3 separate regions of the Homo sapiens genome follow, and regions 2 and 3 are each linked to region 1. The links are contacts of gene promoters, found by promoter capture Hi-C in blood cells and fetal thymus (Javierre and others, 2016). All regions are on one chromosome and are shown on one strand. Each heading gives the region's core, a stretch centred on a gene start or on the middle of the fragment in contact. The rest is flanking DNA. Distances are from core to core; before and after follow the strand shown.

The links. The method cuts DNA at HindIII sites, captures the fragments that hold promoters and counts their contacts. A CHiCAGO score of 5 or more calls a contact.
Region 2: a contact is called between a fragment that was not itself captured here and the fragment with the promoter of SNHG5 in region 1, in 1 of 17 cell types (non-activated CD4 T cells). The highest score is 7.3, in non-activated CD4 T cells.
Region 3: a fragment that was not itself captured here is called in contact with the fragment with the promoter of SNHG5 in region 1 in 1 of 17 cell types (monocytes); the score reaches 8.1 in monocytes.

The regions. Positions count from the first base shown.
Region 1 is chr6:85,677,003-85,680,286 of GRCh38, reverse strand. It overlaps SNHG5 (small nucleolar RNA host gene 5), which reads left to right and starts at 1,554. Exons shown (of 6, transcript NR_003038.2): 1 at 1,554-1,593; 2 at 2,099-2,151; 3 at 2,255-2,333; 4 at 2,412-2,492; 5 at 2,795-2,863; 6 at 3,096-3,280. It overlaps SNORD50B (small nucleolar RNA, C/D box 50B), which reads left to right and starts at 2,628; the gene lies at 2,628-2,698. SNORD50A (small nucleolar RNA, C/D box 50A) reads left to right here and starts at 2,919; the gene lies at 2,919-2,993. RefSeq lists enhancers at 1,584-1,743, 1,914-1,973. The HindIII fragment of the contact is 13,479 bases long and covers 1-1,711 here.
Region 2 is chr6:88,957,469-88,960,752 of GRCh38, reverse strand. All of the region lies in intron 1 of RNGTT (RNA guanylyltransferase and 5'-phosphatase), which reads left to right. Among named protein-coding and RNA genes, the nearest start is that of RNGTT, 4.5 kb to the left of the region's middle. The HindIII fragment of the contact is 1,322 bases long and covers 1,042-2,363 here.
Region 3 is chr6:88,918,641-88,921,924 of GRCh38, reverse strand. All of the region lies in intron 4 of RNGTT (RNA guanylyltransferase and 5'-phosphatase), which reads left to right. Among named protein-coding and RNA genes, the nearest start is that of RNGTT, 43 kb to the left of the region's middle. The HindIII fragment of the contact is 1,920 bases long and covers 841-2,760 here.

The DNA.
Region 1 (3,284 bases), core at 305-2,804:
CTTTGCTTTTTTTGTTAACTCTTTTTAAAAATTTTTTTAATACAATAGAGACAGGGTCTTGGGCTCAATCCTCCCACCTCAGCCTCCAAAAGTGCTCTAATTACAGACATAAGCCACCACACCCGGCCTACTTTGCTTCTTATATCCTTTTGTACTGTATTGTTTGTTTTACTATTTACTATGAGCAATATGCAAATTTATGTAAGACATTACAAAGTAATACAAAAACCGACAAAATGCCCGGCCCAGTCAATACTTCATCATATAGGTTCCTGTTAGAGAAAAGTGCTTTTCACTACTATCTTTGAATGTGAAGTTTGATCTTCATTCTAATTTTCTAAAAAGCCACCGAATGTATTTGTTCATTCATTCATTCATTTAACCATTACCGACAACCTACTTAATGCTAGGCACTGTTCTAAGAAAAAATAAACAGCAGAGCACGAAATCAGATGTGTTGCTCCCACACTCTAGCAGAATCGGACCGTAATCAAATGCACACATAAACAACTTTAATAAGTAGTGCTTTGAAATATAGAAGTGAAGAACGACCTGAATTTTCAAATACTGAAATGTTCAAATGTCGTGTGCACACACACACACGCAGACATATTCACTCGAACATGCTAATTAATCAAAGCACTGCTTTTGAATTTTGTGTTTGTCGTCTGGATAAAGTATTCAGGGATACTTCTCAAATTAATCTTTCTCTCGTTTTCAATATAACTAATTGAGTACAAAGAAGTTAAAAATTAGCAAAGCATTTCAGCTGTGTGACCTTAGGCAAATTACCTGGCTGTTTTAAGCCTCAGTTTTCTCCTCTGCGAAATGGAGTATTGAACCTCACGTTCGCTGTTTGAGGGAGACTTGTATGGTCACGTTTAGTGTAACCGGATGCCTGGCACGAGGAAGCGTGAGGAGGAATGGATCCCCATGGGGCCTTGATGCCCGCCCTGAGGCCCTGCAGGGCCGCACGCCGGGGCTGTTCTCACGTGGCGCTTTCCGCTTTTTCACCCAAGCGTTTCTGCCAGCCAACTGCCCTTTCCCGGAGTGCTGCGGCCAGGGCTCGCCCGCTCCTCCGGCGGCCTCCGCTGGGGGCCCACTACAGCCCAGCGCCAGCCAGCCAGCCAGCCCAGCTTCTCGAATCGGTCCTAAGCTGAGGCCGCCCTGCGCTGCAAAACTTGTGTCCACTCTCGGACCCAATCTGTCCTGGACGGACTTGGCTCGTGGCAGGCGAAAGCGTCGTTTCCAACTGCAGCTGTTTGAATTCTGGCGCCACACCCGCGCCACGTAGGGCCAAGTCGGCCGCCAGACTCGTAAGAGACGCTTCGCAGTGCGCCTGCGGGCGCGCGCCGGGAAATGGCCGGGCGCGCGGCCGGCCTGCGGCGCGCTCCACAACGCGGAACGGGCCTCAGAAGAGCCACCGCGCGCGCTCCCGCTAATTCGCGACCACACCCCTGTCTACTTCCATGTCCAATAGGTGCGAGAGGGCGGGACGGCCTCGTTCTGACTCCGGGAGGCTATATAAGGAGCTACTGGCTGCGCACTTCGGTCTTTTACGTCGGCCTTCGCGAGCGTCTGGGCGGGTGGTAGGTGAGTGGGTATTGCGGGCTAGTATCCGAGCAAAAGATGGTGGCGCAGGCCGAGTTAAGAGCTTTAATCCTGTGAAGACATCTTAGTGAAGAGTTTAGAGTGCTGAGAGTTGAAAGCTTGCACGTGGGAAACGTGCGGCCGGACTGCCACATGTACTGAGGTTGAGTCGTGACGGCCACAGGCTCCGAGTTTTGGCGTGAGGAACCGCTGATCGGCCACGGGCGCCGAACTTGCTGGCCTCCGGCATGTGCCTGAGCGGCGGCGGAAAAACCACCTTAATTGGGGCGGAGGGTTAGTTTTAACAGCAAAGGGCCTTTACTAAAATGGCGAAGGCCTTCCGTCGGCGTTGTTTTAAAATGGGAAGCCTCGACCCTGTATTGAAACTGAGCTGTTCGAAGGCGGCGTTGTGTGCAATTCGGATTAATGAAGGGGAAGGGTTTTGTGTGGAAAAACGCCTTGGAGTGTGACATTTCTGCGAGAATGCTTAAATACCGATTTCCCGCAGGAACAATGGCGCTGTCTTCAGTGGCACAGTGGAGCAGCTCTGAAGATGCAAAGGTAAGAGCTTAGTTAAGCTTAGTTTCCAAACTAAAGGAGTAAACCTGTTGATTTACAGGAATAGGAACTGTTGCATCGTTTGAAATTTACTTTTTTTTGTTAGATACACGAAAAAACTTCCAGAACATCTGGGAGAATATTTAATGGAAAATCGCTTGGTTAAAACCTGACACTTTTAACAGGTATGTGTTGTTTTAGTACTTTATGATTGAGCATAGCATTTAATCCACACCTAGACTAAATCAAATTTTTTTTGTCAGTGAACAGCGTTCTGAGTGTGGACGAGTAGCCAGTGAAGATAATGAATGTCGAATGTGACTGACTAGCAGCTTCATTTTGAAGTAGGTTGTATGGCTTAAAAGTTCTGTAGTATTTGTACTATAATACTTGCCTTTTAGCATTACCTTGGTTTGTAGTCAGTGTCACAGAAGTGCAGTTTAATGTATTATGTGTACATATACAAGGTCTGATTGGTCTAATCAATGATGAAACCTATCCCGAAGCTGATAACCTGAAGAAAAATAAGTACGGATTCGGCTTCTGAGATTAAGACCAGTAATTCAGAGGTGGAGTAAATTTTGTTGCCGTGATTTTATAACAGTTGTGTTATAAAATCCTGGGTTTTTTTTTTTTCTGCCAACAGTGAGGGTCGCTGTCTGCCCATTGATAGAGGCCAGATTGTCTTGGAAGTTCCAAAGTTGCAACGATTTCTGTAAGTGGAGTTTTTCTGTTTGCTTAGAGATCAGTGAATATTGTGTCCTTGGTCTTATCTGTGATGATCTTATCCCGAACCTGAACTTCTGTTGAAAAAAAAAAACTTTTACGGATCTGGCTTCTGAGATGGACCGTTATAAGGACAATATTTTTTTTTAATACTTTTAATGCTTTTACATATGTTGTAATGTTTGTAGTCTTGTAAGAATCTCGTGTTTTTCCTTTTCTAGGGCTAGTGCCACGAGGTTTACTTGACTGTTGTGTGAAAAGCTGATAAGAAAACCATCCAGAAAAAAGCTCTTCGTTTTACAAACATGAAAATAAAACATGTAATTTTGGATTATGTTCCTTTTTGTTATTACTTTTAAATAGGTCCTGAAATAACATGGGGAGCATTAAATGGAAAATCCACTAACCAG
Region 2 (3,284 bases), core at 453-2,952, 3.3 Mb before region 1:
AAACCAGACTTGCAATGAGAGAGAGCTCTTGGAGACAGGGCCAAGCTTTATTTTCTGAAGAACTGTTTTTTCCTCCTTCTGAGTTAATAGATTTCAGGTGAATACTTGGAAGAAAACAAACTTATAATTTCTTTTCCTTTTTCCTTTTTTTCTTTTCTTTTCTTTTCTTTTTTGTATTTTTAGTAGAGATGGGGTTTCACCATGTTGGCCAGGCTGGTCTCCAACTGCTGACCTCGGGTGATCCGCCTGCCTTGGCCTCCCAAAGTGTTGGCATTACAGGTGTGAGCTACCGCACCCAGCCCTCCCTAGTTTCTTAAAGATATATCATTCAACATAAAATTATTTCATATCTGCTATGTAAAGAGCTTACTAGGAACTGTGGGAATGTAAATATGAGACACAGCCAGGTGCATTGGCACATACTTGTGGTCCCAGGTACTCAGGATAGTGTGATGGTGATAGTGATGGTGATTTTGAAGTCATTTTATTTAGCAAATATTTAAATGTCTACTTTGTGCTAGTCCTGGGTGCTAGGGAGATGGCTAAGATATATTACCCTTAAAAAGCAGAGTCTCATGGGAGTAGCAAACCATCCATTTTAAGCACAGTTCTGTTGTAAAAAATGTAGCAATGACTCTATTGTGGTATATGATGGGAATCAGAGGTAATAAACCTAATTCTTTGAGGTTGAGGAAGAAGAGATGGGAAGGAAGAAGGAGATCAGGTGAGACTTCCCAGAGAAGGTCATACATGAATTATCTTCAGTAAATAGAAGTTTTCTAGATAAATAGTTGGCAGGGGGTGTTATTGAAAGTTTCTGTTAGGATAGGATGATGATGGGAGAGATAATAGACTGAAAAAGTGTCTTTGTTCTGGAAGATGTAAGTGAGGTTAAGAGGTTGGAGAATAGCCTGATCATACAGGCAAGTAGGGTGTGATAAGGTATCCTAATATTTATATGCTTTAAATTTTCAGTGGCATACAATTGCAGTTTTTTTTTTCAGCATCGAGATGAGATTATTTGAATCCAAGTTAAAAGCTTACTTTGACTTTTCTGTGTTTAATGAATTGATGGAGAAAAGAGTGGAAATGGAGAGACTAATTAGGAACTTGTTGTAGTCCAGGTGAAAGACAATAGTGATAGTTTAAAAGTGACAGATGAAGAGTAGAAGGCTAATTTGAGAGATATTAAGAAGGGAAAATGGACAGAACTTGATGTCGTATTTAGAATGAGGGAAAGAGGGTCAAAATTTAGTCTCAAATGTCTGGCTTATGCACATGAGATAGTTGATATTATTAGGGCTTACTGAGAGAGAAGCAGGTTGGAGGAGATATTAAGATCCTGATTGCTCAAATAGAGATCTTTAGTAAAGATCTTTTTAAAAAACATTTTTATGTTATTTCAGTAGTTTTTGGGGGACAGGTGGTTTTTGGTTACATGGATAAGTACTTCAGTGATGATTTCTGAGATTTTGGTGCACCTGTCACTCAAGGAGTGTACACTGTAGTAGTCTTTTATCCCTCATCCCCCCTCTCCACACTTCCCCCTGAGTACCCAAAGTCCATTATATCATTGTTATGTCTTTGCATTCTCATAGCTTAGCTCCCACTTACAAGTGAGAACACAGGATATTTGGGTTTCCATTCCTGAGTTACTTCACTTAGAATGATGGGGTCCAACTCCATCTAGGTTGCCATGAATGCCATTATTTCATTCCTTTTTATGGCTGAGTAGTATTCCATGGTATATATACATATCACATTTTCTTTATCCACTCATTGGTTCTTGGGCATTTAAGCTGGTTCCACATTTTTGCAATTGCAAATTGTGCTGCTGTAAACATGCCTGTGCAAGTGGCTTTTTCAGATAATGACTTATTTTCTTCTGGGTAGATACCCAGTAGTGGGATTGCTGGATCAAATGGTAGTTCTTCTAGTTCTTCAAGGAATCACCATACTGTTTTCCCTAGTGGTTGTAATAATTTACATTCCCACCAGCAGTGTAAAAGTGTTACCTTTTCCCCACATTCATGCCAACATCTAATATTTTTTGATATTTTAATTATGGCCATTCTTGCAGGAGTAAGGTGGTATCTCATTGTAGTTTTAATTTGCATTTCCTTGATAGTGATGTTGAACATTTTTCATATGCTTCTTGGCCAACTGTATATCTTCTTTTGTCTGTTCATGTCCTTTGTCCACTTTTTGATGGGATTATTTGTTTTTTTCTTGCTCATTTGTTTCAGTTCCTTGTAGATTCTGGATATTAGTTCTTTGTCAGATGCATAGTTTGCGAAGATTTTCTCCCACTCTGTGGGTTGTCTGTTTACTCTGCTGATTATTTCTTTTGCTGTGCAGAAGCTTTTTAGTTTAATTAGGTTCCATCTATTTATTTTTGTTTTTGTTGCATTTGCTTTTGGGTTCTTGGTCACGAACTCTGCCTAAGTCAATGTCTAGAAGAGTTTTTTCCAATGTTATCTTCTAGAATTTTTATGGTTTCAGATCTTACTTAAGTTTGAGTTGATCCATCTCCAGTTGACTTTGTATAAGGTGAGAGATGAGTTTCATTCTTCTACGCGTAGCTTGTTAGTTATCCCAGGACCATTTGTTGAATAGGGTGTCCTTTCCCCACTTTATGCTTTTGTTTGCTTTGTCAAAGATCAGTTGGCTGTAAGTGTTTGGCTTTCTTTCTGGGTTCTCTATTCTGTTCCATGGGTCTGTGTGCCTATTTTTATACCAGTACTATGCTGTTTTGGTTACTATAGTCTTGTAGTATAATTTGAAGTTGGGTAATGTGATGCCTTTACATTTGTTCTTTTTTGTTTGCTTACCTTGGCTATTTGGGCTCTTTTTTGGTTCAATGAATTTTAGGATTGCTTTTTCTGGTTCTGTGAAGAATGATGATGGTACTTTGATGGGAATTGCATTGAATCTAAAGATTGCTTTTGGCAGTATGATCATTTTCATAGTATTGATTATACCCATCTATGAGCATGGGATGTGTTTCCATTTGTTTGTGTCATCTGTGATTTATTTCAGTAGTGTTTTGTAGTTTTCCTTTTAGAGATCTTTCACCTCCTTGGTTAGGTATATTCCTAAGTATTCTATTGTTATTATTTTTTTTATGCAGCTGTTGTAAAAGGGATTGAGTTCTTGATTTGATTCTCAGCTTGGCCATTGTTGGTGCATAGCAGTGCTACTGATTTGTGTACGTTGATTTTGTATCCTGAAACTTTAAAGAATTCATTTGTCAGATTTGGGAGCTTTTTGGATGAGTCTTTAGG
Region 3 (3,284 bases), core at 551-3,050, 3.2 Mb before region 1:
CCTATGAACATCCTGCCGTTTTCTTTGAATCACCTCTAGGTATTACTTATAATACCTAATACAATGTAAGTTCTATGTGAACAGTTACTATATTGTATTTTTAAATTTGTATTATTTTTTACTGTATTTTTTATTGAGTTTTTTCCCAAATATTTTTAATACAGATATAGGAAGGCCAATTTACTCCAAAAATATTATTAAGGGTGGAGGATGAAAAAAAATCAGCAAAATGATAATTACCAAAGAGGGATGATGGATACATGAGGTTTCATTTTTCTATTCTCACTGCTTTGGGTATGTCTGCAAATTTCCATAATAAAAAAAAAATTTGAGAGTACTGCCCCAGAGAAGCTAACAGTATGGTAAAAATTGAAAACATCTGGTTCTAAGGGTTTCAGATAAGGGACTATGAAGCTGTAGTTACTGCTAAGGATTAGAAAAGGTTTCAAGCTTCTGTGTGTTTCAAGAACTTTATATTTCCATGAAGCCTACAGCATTAGCCCACAGCCTCACCAATTATCAACTGATAACTGAATCAGTTGTCAACTGTAATTGATAAATTAACAATTATATCAGCTAATTCAAAGATTACTTTTTTTTTTTTTAAAGACCAGGTCTCACTATGTCACCCAGGCTGGGATTTTTTTTTAAAACCAAGACAGCTTTGAAAAGAAACCTGAGTCTAACCTTTGCCACATCACAAATGTTTACTACTGGTCACAAATATTGATCAGCAAGAGTTTGTGCAAGGCTGATAAAAATTCCTTCTCTGAAACTAAAAATAAATGAAAGTACTATAAAAGCAGGACAGTATTTTCAGATCCTAAGACTACTTAAGCTTGATTCTTTAGTGCTTTTTATTTAGAAAGGTGTTATCAGCAATCAGTTCTGAGACTAGTTTCTGTTATTGTCTCTACAGTAATACTATAAGAAATAACTGGCAATACATCCTGTGCTCCAAAATTTGGCAGGCCCAAAGCAAATGTTTCCAATTCAATCCACATGAACAGAATCACTGCCGGGAATATAAAACAAAATATATATATATCACTAGGTTCTATAAATTTTATAACCTGTAAACACTCAAAACAATTAGAAGTTTTTCTTATCAGTTCTTCTAAGAATACAACTGCACAATTTATAACAAGGATGAATTTGTTTTCCTAAACCTGGAGTATGAATCTTTCTAAAATCATGACATCTAATGCCAGAGGTTAAAATTGCTTGACTGCCCTCCTTTGAATTCATTAAGCATATTTAATGTTTACCCCTATAATGGCTTCTCTCAAATGAGAAAACACTTCTGTGAGTTGTTTTTACTTATTCAGATAAAGGCCTCAGTATTACCTTAAGCTGTGTAGGTTCTAGTCATATACCTCAATATATGTGTATGTATGTGTGACTGTTATATATATTCATATAAATGTATGAATATATATACACACATCCTTAACATATTTCATGTATATCTCATAATATTGTTCTGTTAAATAATAGCTGCATACTGTACCATATAAATAACCTGCTTTTTTCAAAACAACAAATACAGTATAGTAACTGTTCACATAGCACTTACATTGCATTAGGTATTATAAGTAATACCTAGAGGTGATTCAAAGAAAACGGCAGGATGTTCATAGGTCATATGCAAATACTATGCCATTTTATACAAGGCACTTGAGCACTGAGCATCGGAGGATTTTGGTATCTGAGGGGGATCCCAGAACCAATCCCCTGAGGAGTCTGAGGAACAACTGCATTAATTTTTTTTGCCTTTATTGTATTATATTAAATAATTTTTTAGAGACCAGGTCTGGCTATGTTGTTCAGGCTGGACTTCAACTTCATCCCACAAATTGTAACAATTAAAATTGTCTCTAGACATTACAAAATGTCCCCTGGGGGGCAAAATCTTCCCCAGTTGAGAACTACTGAATCCTCGGTGCAGTGGCTCACGCCTGTAATCCCAACACTTTGGGAGGCCGAGGCGGGTGGATCACCTGAGGTCAGAGTTTGAGACCAGCCTGACCACCATGGTGAAACCCTGTCTCTACTAAAAATACAAAATTAGCCAGGCGTGGTGGCGCATGCCTGTAATCCCAGGTACTCAGGAGGCTGAGGTAGAGGTTGTAGTGAGCCGAGATTGCTCCATTGCACTCCAGCCTGGGCAAAAAGAACAAAACTCCGTCTCAAAAAAAAAAAAAAAAAAAAAAAAAAGAACTACTGACCTAATTAGACTGATCAAATAATTAGGATTTTTAGCATTAAAAAATTTATCTAGCTAGTGAGATAGAAATAAAATTGTGGGCCAGGTGTGGTGGCTCATGCCTACAATCCCAGAAGACCAAGGCCAAGGATCTCTTGAGCCCAGGAGTTCAAGACCAGCCTTGGCAACATAGAGAGACCCTGTCTATACCCCCCACACCCTCCAAAATAGTGTATGTTGAGATCAGGCTTTATTTAAAAAGATACATTGTCACCAGCCCCTTTATAAACTGCCCCAACATGTATAGCTATAGCTAATCTCTCTGTCTATTTGTTGGGGAGTTTCTTTCCCTAGTTTGATTGTAAATGCCATATACATTTATTTCATTATATTAGCTTGCCTGGAAAAATTTGAATAGAAGTTGCCTTGAAATAGTTAATTGTGAGCTAATATTTAGTTAAAAACTGTGGCTTACTTACCACTAGATGGACCCATTCTCATGATGAAGAAAACTGAAAATTGCTTTAAACAAAAACTGAAGACGTATCTAAGCTTGTAGTATACCTAATTAATGGATTTTTTAATATCAAATACATAATCTCCCACATTTTTCTATAGTGGTTTGTTTTGATGGTTTTGTAACTTTATAACCCTATCTATAAATGTTTTGATGTATAACTGAACCATTAGACTAAGACTTTTTGTATTTGCATATAAAGAATATTAAAAGGAAAATGGTACTTTCCTAGATTACATATCTTCACATGACATATTAGCTAATTGGCAATTATTATTACATTTCCTATTCATAAAAATATTTAATCTTGCAAGAGTAAAAATTGGATACAAAAACAGTAGCTTAGGTGAGAAACATCGAAAGTTGAAATATTTGTTGCTTGAATTGGTCTGAAATAGAAGATAGTAAGGAAATTTACATGTTGGGTTAAGATACATGAATACAAAAATGTGTTTATAGTGCACATCTTTGTGTGGCTTTTTTGAAGCACTTTTTCTTACAAAGCAATGGAGATAATGGAATTTATAGATTTTCTTGGTCATAGCTATTTATTTCTAAGTG